Regions from separate parts of the Homo sapiens genome. Here region 2 is linked to region 1. The links are contacts of gene promoters, found by promoter capture Hi-C in human tissues and cell types (Jung and others, 2019). All regions are on one chromosome and are shown on one strand. Each heading gives the region's core, a stretch centred on a gene start or on the middle of the fragment in contact. The rest is flanking DNA. Distances are from core to core; before and after follow the strand shown. Region 1 holds the start of BPIFC (BPI fold containing family C). Region 2 holds the start of LINC01640 (long intergenic non-protein coding RNA 1640).

Region 1 (5,356 bases), core at 2,756-5,255:
CGGTGGCTCATGCCTGTAATACCAGCACTTTGGGAGGCCGAGTCGGGTGGATCACAAGGTCAGGAATTCGAGAACAGCCTGGCAAACATGGCAAAACCCCATCTGTACCAAAAATTCAAAAATTAGCCAGGCGTGGTGGTGGCGCCTGTAATCTCAGCTACTCAGGAGGCTGAGGCAGGAGAATTGCTTAACCCAGGAGCGGGAGGTTGCAGTGAGCCGAGTTGGTGCCACTGCCCTCCAGCCTGGGCAACAGAGTGAGACTAAATCTCAAAAAAAAAAAAAAAAGTATTCTATGTCCCATGTGAGCTGTACTGTTATTTACTTTTTTTTCCCATAAATCAACCCACTTCTTAAAATGTATATAATCTTATTTAAAAGGGAAAAGTTATATAAAGGGGAAACTTTTTAAATTTCCTAATAGAGGGTAACTGTAAAAAGTAAATACCATGAAAACTGAACTTTGTATACTTCTTAAAAACAAACCTTGTTTAAGATATCTTTGTAATTATTAACTTTAAATAAAAATAGATGAAATGCATCTAATTTATTGACACTGTGTGAAAAACATAGGTGCTGCCTCGTCTAATTTCATTCTCAAAATGACTCTTCAAAGTAAATGTGAGCTCCACTTTTAGAGGTGATGGCTCTGAGACCTGGAAGTGAAGTAAATTGTTCAAGGACCCAGCGTTGGAATGGGTAGCGCAGGTCCAGGTCCAGGGGAGGCGAGAGCCCTCATGACTGCAAGGCGAATCTCTACACCTTGCACTGTCTCTCCTCACCATTCTCATTCAAGCCAACCTCCCTCTTCTATCTTGTGGCAGACTCCTGGAATATACAGCAATGATTCTGGGGTTTTCACCAAAGATGTGGTTAGACTTTCAGGTCTTTTGTAACAGGAAGAAAAAGTATTTGCATCAGGAAAGATGGAAAGATACTGTTATTTTATGGTTGTTTGTTTGTTTGTTTGTTTGTTTGTTTTGAGAGGGAGTCTCGCTCTGTTGCCCAGGCTGAAGTGCAGTGGCGAGATCTTGGCTCACTGCAAGCTCTGCCTCCCAGGTTCACCCCATTCTCCTGCCTCAGCCTCCTGAGTAGCTGGGACTACAGGCGCCCACCACCAAGCCCGGCTAATTTTTTGTGTTTTTAGTAGAGACGGGGTTTCACTGTGTTAGCCAGGATGGTCTTGATCTCTTGACCTCGTGATCTGCCCGCCTCGGCCTCCCAAAGTGCTGGGATTACAGGCGTGAGCCACCACGCCCAGCCGATTGTTGGTTTCTTTCTAACAGAGAAAAGGAATTGAGAATGAGCAGGGGATGGGCTGGGCAGGGGCCAGACAGTGAAGGTGGGAGCAGGGGAAGAAGATGGAGCCAAGAAGCTGCTCTGGAGAGGAGAGAAACGAAAGAGGAGACCTCGGACCCTGGAGAAGGACAGGGAGAGAGGGGGCGGGGGAGGAAATTGATGTTGCCACCCGGGGAAAATAGTGAGGAAAAGGTAGAAAGATGTAGAGGTGTTTTGTGATTTTTTTTTTCCATATAGTGCTTTTGATGTTGTCCTTCATCTTCCATGTTGTCCTTCGTCTTCCATGTCTAGCTCTGTATTTTTTCTAATGCACAGTACAATTTCAAGAGCTTCTCTGCATAGCGCCTGAACTCATCTTCCACACTTTCAGTAGCACATGCACGTGGGAAGCTGCCTGCAATGATCTCATTCATTTCTGTGGCTTTAACTCCACCTTTCGGATGATGACTTAGACATTCATATTTCCAGTTGACCTCTTCCCTGAACTCTACCCACCTGACATCACCATTTACATCTCGAATACCATAACTTCTGCCCCAACTCCATTTCAGACAAACTGGCTCACCTTTGCAGTTCCCTCCACCTTTTCCTTTCAGCACTTTGCCTGCCTGGCTTCCAACGGTCACATCTCAGCGCAAATAATCACCTCCTCAGAGACGCCCACGTGGGTATCCTGATAAAATAAGCCCACCTCCCCCAGTTGCATTGCTCTACCTATTACAAGACCACCTTACCAACAACATTCCCTTAGTTCCGTCACAGTACATGTCACAATTTATACATTTTTGTTTATTTTATTGTTTGCTTATTTATTTTGTCTCCATCGACTAGAACATAAACTCCTCGTGGACAAAAATTTCATCTTTTTTGCTGAAGAGGACTTTGCACATTGTAGGTGCTCAGTAAATCTGTTGATTGAATGAATGAATTCATCTATGATGACCGACAATAAATGATCCCATGAAGAGCGTCTCTGCACCGTATCATTATTGATACGGCCACGTGCTAATGAGTAGAATTTCACAGCAGTTTACAGTTTTAATAGCGCATTCTCATGTGTTATTATGTTTTTCTTCACCAGAACCAATCAAGGAAGTTACTATTTCTATCCCCACTTTACCTTAAGGAAACTCAGTTCAAATCAGTAAGTATAACCCAAGGTATAACTCCCCTGAGAAGCTGTGAGAAGTATGGACAATGCCAAGTGAAAGCGTCTGTGGTTCCTTTCAGACTGACTTATCATCCTGATTTTCCCAGGACTGTTCTGGTTTTAGTACTGAAAATCCTGCATTCTTGGGAAACCAGGACAGTTGGTCACCGGGTCTTACCCAGAAAAGTGTAGATAAGCCATAAGAACTTCATGCAATCAGGCTGGGTGCGGTGGATCATGCCTGTAATCCCAGGACTTTGGGAGGCCAAGGCAGGTGGATCACTTGAGGTCAAGAGTTCAAGACCAGCCTGGCCAACATGGTGAAACCCCATCACTACTAAAAATACAAAAATTAGCCAAGTTTGGTGGTGCACACCTGTAATTCCAGCTACTCAGAGGGCTAAGGCACAAGAATCGCTTAAACCCTGGAGGCAGAGGTTGTAGTGAGCCAAGATCATGCCACTGCACTCCAGCCTGGGTGACAGTGAGACTGTCTCAAAAAAAAAAAAACCAAAAAACAAAAAAAAAAACTTCATACAATCAAATCCCTGGCCATCTAAAATACATTAATGGCCGGGTATGATGGCTCACATCTGTAATCCCAGCACTTATGAAGCCAACACGGGTGGATCAATCACATGAGGTCAGGAGTTCGAGACCAGCCTGGCCAATGCAGCGAAACCCTGTCTGTACTAAAAATACAAAAAATTAGCTGGGCGTGGTAGCGCACTCCTGTAATCCCAGCTACTAGGGAGGCTGAGGCAGGAGAATTGTTTGAACCCAGGGGGCGGAGGTTGCAGTGAGCCAAGATCGCTCCACTGCACTCCAGCCTGGGTGACAGAGTGAGACTCCATCTCAAAAAATAAATAAATAAAAATAAAAATAGATAAAACACATTAACTAAAATGAATTTATTGGAGATGAGAGTAGGGCTGGAGTTTGGAATCTGAAAATGTTAAGTTGCATAATAGTTGATGAACCCACCCACCCAACTTAGGTTTAAGGAATGCTGGAACAGTAAGTCATTAATAACATTCTGAAAAGGAGCGGACGGACACTGAGAGATGCCAACTGAGGTCCTACCCTGAGTGATAAGGTAACTAGGTCAGCCCGATTGTCAAGCCTCATGCTTTCAGACTGAATCTGATGATCCACCACAAGTCCCAAAGGTATTCTGGGCAGTAGTAGAGCCATCCACCGCAGGCACCCTGACCAGAAGGAACCAGCTTATGATTCCAGACAGGAAAATTCTTCCTCTTCCAATGCAGTTTAACACCGTTTTCAATCATTTTGGTAAAGTAGCCATCACAATTTCACAAGTGGTGTGTGTGTGTGTGTGTGTGTGTGTGTGTGTGTGTTTTGCAGGAAGATAATTATTGCATAGGTGGCACTGTCTGTTTATCTAGGTAGATACTGTAGTGCTCATTCATGCCATTGGGTAATTGTAGTGAAGCAATTATGTATCACATTTTGAAAGAGGCATTAAAAAAATTCACCACTGAGATGAGTCAGACTTAATTATCTTGGCTTTTTAGCAGCTGAGTTTAAGGCGCAAGGTGGAGAACACATCAGCTTCAAAGGCAGAGAGAATCGAAGGTGCTCTCCAGCTTTGGACACTTCCTCTGCTTGAGGTAAGACTCATGAACAAACTTCAGGTCTCTGCCAGCCATGATCTCCAAACTGGAGATGTCCCAGATTTGGTAGGACACTTTGAACAGGCAGCTGTCATATATCCTGGGTTATTATTATTGTCTGCCTAGATTTTTCTGTATCTTTGTTTGTTTGTTTGTGTGATGTCACATATGCGCACCTGGAGGCTTCTTAGGCAAAAGCTTTAGTGACAGCTAAACAGCCATAAGAGAGAAAAGAGTTGGTTTAAACCACCTACTTAGTTTTGCATCATGGAACAATGTTAAGAGGGTTGCTCAGTGATCTGGACTTATTTTTGCCTCCATTTCAGAGGGGAACCCAGCACAGTGGCAGAAAATTCTATCTTGTCTCTCAAAATCAGCATGGTTAGGACTAAGGAGTTGTTATAATCTCTGTGCTTTCAAGGCAGGTCTTAAAGCACATCAGTGACCTAGATCCTGCCAGAGCAAAACTAGCCACCCACTTGCCTGGACTGTTGAACTTGTTGGTGTTAGGCATAGAGTTTTGGGGAAAAGACATGCTATGAATTCTCAAGGTCCTTGTCATTAGAGATGTTGCTATAAAACTAGATGTGAGGAGTGGATCCCTTGAAATATTCTGCCCACGTTCCATACCTGTCGATTTAGACTTCTTATGTACGGTCATTTTGTCTTAACCAATATGTCGGAATACCCTTCTAGTTTAGACTTCTTTAAACCTGTTGAACTTAATTTTTCAACCTGCGCCTCTGTTTTGAAGGCTACATTTTACTCATTCATTACTCCCTTAATCGGTTTTTCCAGAGTCAGTCAAAGCTCTTGCCAAGCAGCAGTAGTAGTAGGACCATCTGTGAGTTTCAGGTGTTTTCTAAATTGGACTGGCATTTTCTTAGCTGTCAGGATGACTCACACAAGGACCATTTAATTTAGGAGTATTATTCTGTCTGTGTATTTGTATGGAAAAATAATGACTACTGAGATTTTGAATCTTGGAAAGAAGCAATTCCCCAGAAGCAACAAAATAGATAACTTGCTGGTGGGGTTTTTAAGTGATCTTGGATCCTTTTAACAGGCAACTAGCCCTGCCTGCACTTGTCAGCCAAATTACTTAACCTTTTAGTAGTCATCACCTTGCTTGACAAGGTTCCTTTCCTCCCCTGCCCATAAGTTATCATCGTAACTGAACAATTCAATGAAAAGTTATGTACAATTCACCCCTTCATACCCCAGTAATTTCTTTCACTCATAAAATTTCTAGAGGAAAAATATGTTTTCCTGCCTG
Region 2 (5,118 bases), core at 84-2,583, 650 kb before region 1:
CATGCCTGTAATCCCAGCTACTCAGGAGGCTGAGGCAGAAGAATTGCTTGAACCTGGGAGGCAGAGGTTGTGGTGAGCTGAGATCATGCCATTGCACTCCAGCCTGGGCAACAAGAGTGAAACTCCATCTCAAAAAAAAAAAAAAAAAAAGATAATTAAGTGACGTAAATATACATAAGGCTCTAGACTTACTTCCTGCCATATAGTTGGTGCTTAAAATAGTTTCTATTGATAGTTTGAGTCTTAAAATGAGCATATATTCCTTTAAAACCTACAAAAACAACAAAACATTTATATTTTGAGTTGAACCCTAACATGTCATTTCTCTGAGCAACGAGACTTGAATGCATTTAATAGAGCATGACATTCTCTCACTGTATCTTCATTTCTCTTGGATTTTTATTTCCTCTGACCAATTTTAACACCTGCCCTCCTGACATGATGATTGATTTTCCTGGCAGAGAAGACAGAGACAAAGAGGACTACGGTTAGGGGTGGTACTTCTCCTGTGGGCTTTTTGTACCAGACTAAAAATAGCTTTTTCACACATCTGTGCTGCTTGCAGGCTTTTGTTTCCTGACCCTCTTCAAAAGGACTCCAGCCTGCTTGCCCCACCTGTTCACCATTTGGACACATTCTCTTTGTGTCCTAACTCTCAGAAGAGCTCACCAAGAGAGCACATTGACCTCTTTACACAACAACCCTTCCTACCTCTCTCTGTCCTTCCTCACCAGGACTATTTATACCTTTTAAACAAGATTTCAGTCTTGAAAAGGGCCTTTTCTGGCACTCACTGTCTATTCACTTATTTCATTCATTTAAGCAGCATGCCCCGAATGCGCCCTGTGATATTTGCCAACATGACTTCCACTACTAACAATGGTAATAGTCGCTTCCATCTTGCCAGCGCATACGATGTGGCAGATGCTGTGCTATGCGCTGTATATGCATTCTCTCGTTTAATCCCCTAAAAACTCTAGGATGCACATACTATTACTGTCCTCCATAAACAATGGGGAAAAATGTGAGACTTAACTCAGTGAAGGTTAAGTAACTTAAGTGAGGTTAAGTAACTTCCTTGAAGCCATAGCAAGTGGCACAGCCATCCACTTTTCTCGATCCCACTTTTGTCTTTCTGGCTCAGGCCACCACCCATCCTCTGGACTAGTTCATCAGCCTCCTAACTGGGCTGCCAGCTCCAGCCTTGACCCCCTGCAAACTATTCTCTACACAGGCACAGTAAAGTTTTAAAAACACATGTCAAGCTATTCCCTTGCTTAAAACCCTTCAATGGCTCCTCCCTTCTCTTGGGATAATGTGCTAAGTCCTTATATGGCTTTGAACCCTCAGATCTCAAGCCTTCATTTATTTCCCATATTCTACGTTCCAGCTATATTGGACTTTATTTGTCCCCAGGCCTTCCACTGTCTGTTCCCTCAGTTGTAACACTCTTCCTTGCTTTCCACTGTCATTCCTGGGAGAAAATAAAGGCATCTCTCTTGCTTCCCCGCCCCATAATTCCTCCAGAAGCACATAAATTCCTCAGTAATTTCATGCATTTATAAGGTTTCTATTACATCATTTATTTCATCACAACCCCCTACAGATGAGGGAGCTGACCTCAAGCAACCTTCTCAAAATCAGAGTTCTAGCAAGAGGCAGAGGTGGGATGCAAATGCATATGTCTCTCTGACTCGACACTGTGATCTTTCCTCTGATCTTTGTTGCCATGACGTTTTTTGAGGTTAAAAACAACAGTAGATAAATGAGTCTGGACGGGGGGAATTGTCAGTGAGGCTGAAATTAATCCAATCAGCTAGGGGAAAGGAATCTTATCCTATGCCTTTGGGGGTGGGAAGGTCAGGAGTTGGGCTCCAGCTGCAGAGTGGGTTTCTGCTTTCCAAATTAGGGTCTTTTCCTTGCCTACCTTTGTGTGGCTATAATCATAGAAGCTGTTTTATTAACGCCCTTGGTAAAGCCCAGCAAGATGATACATCCTTAGCAACAAAGGGTTAGCTGGGGCCAGTCCTACGGAGTCAGAGTCTCACAAGGGACACTTGGAGGAGAGCAGAAAGGAAATCCACCAAGGAAGCGGCGATCCTGAGAAACCAAGGTTCCAGAAATGGGCTTCAGAGGATTCTTACCACCTCTCCCCCATCTCTCCTCAACCCAGCCCTCACCCATTCACTTGGGGAAATTAGGGAGGTTTGATAATAACTACAACCAGCTCCTCCTAATTAATTGCCAGGTCTCAAAAGTCACTGGTGCCTAGTGGTATGATAAAAGGCTTAGTGTCTTTTATCTGTCTTGGGCCCCACCCAGTTTGGCATTCTTTAAAGCATGCTCAACACACATCATACAGCTTGATCTTTATATAAGCCTCCTAAAAGCAGAGCTTTTTTGTTTACCTCTGCCTCACATGGAATTTTCCCCTTTGTTGTTTTTATTATCTAAGCGATACATATTTATTATGAAAGAAATAGGCCAACAGAAAAGCAATGACTCAAACCACCATCAGCTTGGCATTGTGACTGATGACCAAATCTGCCACTACAACAGAATGCCAAAAACCTCCTGCCAGATGGTAAACAACTAGAAGAACCAAGTCTGCAGCCGTGCATGGTAGGAAGGCACGGATTGGGGAGTAGCCCCAGTTTGGACTTGGACTTGGAACCAAATTCCGCGCTGTGCGAACTGTGCAGAAATTCTTACTCAGACCGTTGGAACAATAAGGACATCTGTTGGCCCACATAGCAGGAAGCTTCAGGATTGGCTTTATCCAGTGGTCTCTGTGATGCTCCTGGCCATTCCCACCGCTGCACCAGTGTCACGCACAAGCTTCTTGTGAGGTGGCTGCAGTATCCCCAGAACTCATATCCACACACAGCAATGTCAGAGGATCAAACTGGCTCCTGCTGATGCTTTCTCCAGAGAGAGAGGACAATATCTGCAGAAGCCCCAGAAAATTTCCCCTTGCACCTTTTTTATTCAAAACGTACGCTCATTTCTGAACTAATCCCTACAGCTGGCAGGATGCTCTGCACTAATTGGCTTAGGCCTGAATTCTCCCACTGGAAATGGAGATGTGATTTCTGTGACTAGCTCACATTAATCAGGCCCCACCCCTGCAGATGGTGTGGGGTAGACATTGCAATGTCAATAGCAATTGTCTGGCCTTGAACAGGTTATTTAACTCCTCTGAGCATCAATGTCCCCACTTAGAAAATGGGAATAGTCAGACAGTTTTGGTGGTGGACAGTATCTGAGATAATTTATGTGAAATGACAAAATTTGATGCTGAACACTTAGGGGATGAGTAAGCGTGTTAGTTCACTTTGCATTGCCGTAAAGGATTCCCTGAGACTGGGTGATTTACAGAGAACAGAGATTTATTTGGCTCACGGTTCTACAGACTGTGCAATAAGCATGCTGCTGGCATCTGCTTCTGGTGAGGGCCTCAGGAATCTTACAATTATGGCAGAAGATGCAGGTGGAGCAGGTGGTGTCACATGGCAAGAGCGGGAGCAAGAAGGAGAGGAGGAGATGCCAGGCTCCTTTAAACAACCAGATCTCCAGTGAACTCATTATTGCAGGGAGGACACCAAGTCATTCTTGAGAGATCTGCCCACGTAATTCAAACATCTCCCACTCCCACTAGGCCCCACCTCCAACATTGGAGATCACATTTCAACATGAGATTTGGAGGTGGCAAACATTGAAACTATATCCATAAGTGAATAAATGTTTGATAAAATCCATTAATTAATTAATGGTAACTTTAGGTAGCAATAAGCAAATAAAGGTACATTTCCTCATCCCCTTCTGGCTGGACCTTTTGGCAGGCGATGACTTAAGAAGGTCCTTGAATCAGGCATGGTGGTGCATGCCTGCAGTCCCAGCTAGTCAGGAGGCTGAGACGGGAAGATCACTTGAGCTCAGGAGTTCCAGGCTGCAGTGTGCCATGATCATTCCTATAAATAGCCACTGCACTCCTGCCTGGACAACAGAGCCAGATCCTGTCTGTTAACTTTTTTTTTTTTTAATTTAAAAAAGAAAGTCCTTGAAACAGAGTTAAGCATGTCAAAAGTTTGCCAGAGAAAGCCCCAACTTTAGCAACCAAACCTGGCTTGTTAGATGGTAGAGAGATGGGGCTCTGTGTTGAGACTTCCTGGGTTTGAATCCAGAACCTTCAAATTACTGGCCAGGTGACCTTTGAAATGTGACCTCCTCTCCCCAAGCCTCAGTTTTCTCCTCTGTGAAATGGGTCAATAAAAGGCAACCTTCATTGAACACAATGTATTGGACAGACATTATTTTAAACATTTCACAGGTAGAATTTTATTAAATCCTTTCCACAACCTCATCAGCTTGACACTTTTATTACCTCATTATAAAGATAAGAAAACTAGGTCATGGGGAGATTAAGCTACTTGCCTAAATGTGGAGCCAGGACCTTAACACAAATAATCTAGCTTCAGAGCATGCATTCATAATAATTAAATTCTACTGCCTCTCAGTAATAATAGTAGACACCTCAGGGGCTTTTTGTGGTGATAAATGACATAATACATATGCAATGCTCAGGAGGCTCAGCAACAGTAGTATAATTGCTAATAATAATATTAGTAATTATTATTATTACTATGTGGAGGTAAATGATGTTTCCACATAAGCTCAAAACTTCCACCCCATTGTCAGAAAAATCTTCGCCATAGAGTTGATGTACTTACAGGATTCTACTAGTTCCCCTGTTTCCAAAGAAAAACTTCAGCTTTCCCTGATCCATCCCCCAACCCCCATCCTTCCTGCCCCACCGTGCACAGGGATGAGGCTGCTCACCCAGGTCTCTGTGACTCTGTTCATGTCATTACTTGTGATGGAACAACAGCTCTCTTCCCACCGTGCTCATGGGCAAACTCCTTTTCCTTCTGCAGAAAAACCACTCCTTCTTCTATGCCCTGGGGTCACTGGGGAGAGCTCTCCACTAACTTGAGCTGTAATCACTTTCAGTTGCACGTGTCTGTCTCCCTCGTGGAGATGGGATGGAGCACTATGTTTAGCCATTTTTCTTTCTCCAGTGCTTGATACAAAGCTGGCATATAATATAAACTCAGTGAA

What was found. Contacts are between HindIII fragments. The study calls those that stand out against the background at their distance.
Region 2: a contact is called between a fragment that was not itself captured here and the fragment with the promoter of BPIFC in region 1, in 1 of the 25 tissues and cell types used here (dorsolateral prefrontal cortex).

What each region holds. Positions count from the first base shown.
Region 1 is chr22:32,463,095-32,468,450 of GRCh38, reverse strand. BPIFC (BPI fold containing family C) reads left to right here and starts at 4,005. Exons shown (of 17, transcript NM_174932.3): 1 at 4,005-4,077. The HindIII fragment of the contact is 9,351 bases long and covers 1,534-5,356 here.
Region 2 is chr22:33,108,238-33,113,355 of GRCh38, reverse strand. It overlaps LINC01640 (long intergenic non-protein coding RNA 1640), which reads right to left and starts at 4,827. Exons shown (of 4, transcript NR_134617.1): 1 at 4,731-4,827; 2 at 4,123-4,253; 3 at 2,713-2,947. It also overlaps a transcript of LARGE1 not described here. RefSeq lists an enhancer at 1,918-3,117. The HindIII fragment of the contact is 5,583 bases long and covers 1-4,124 here.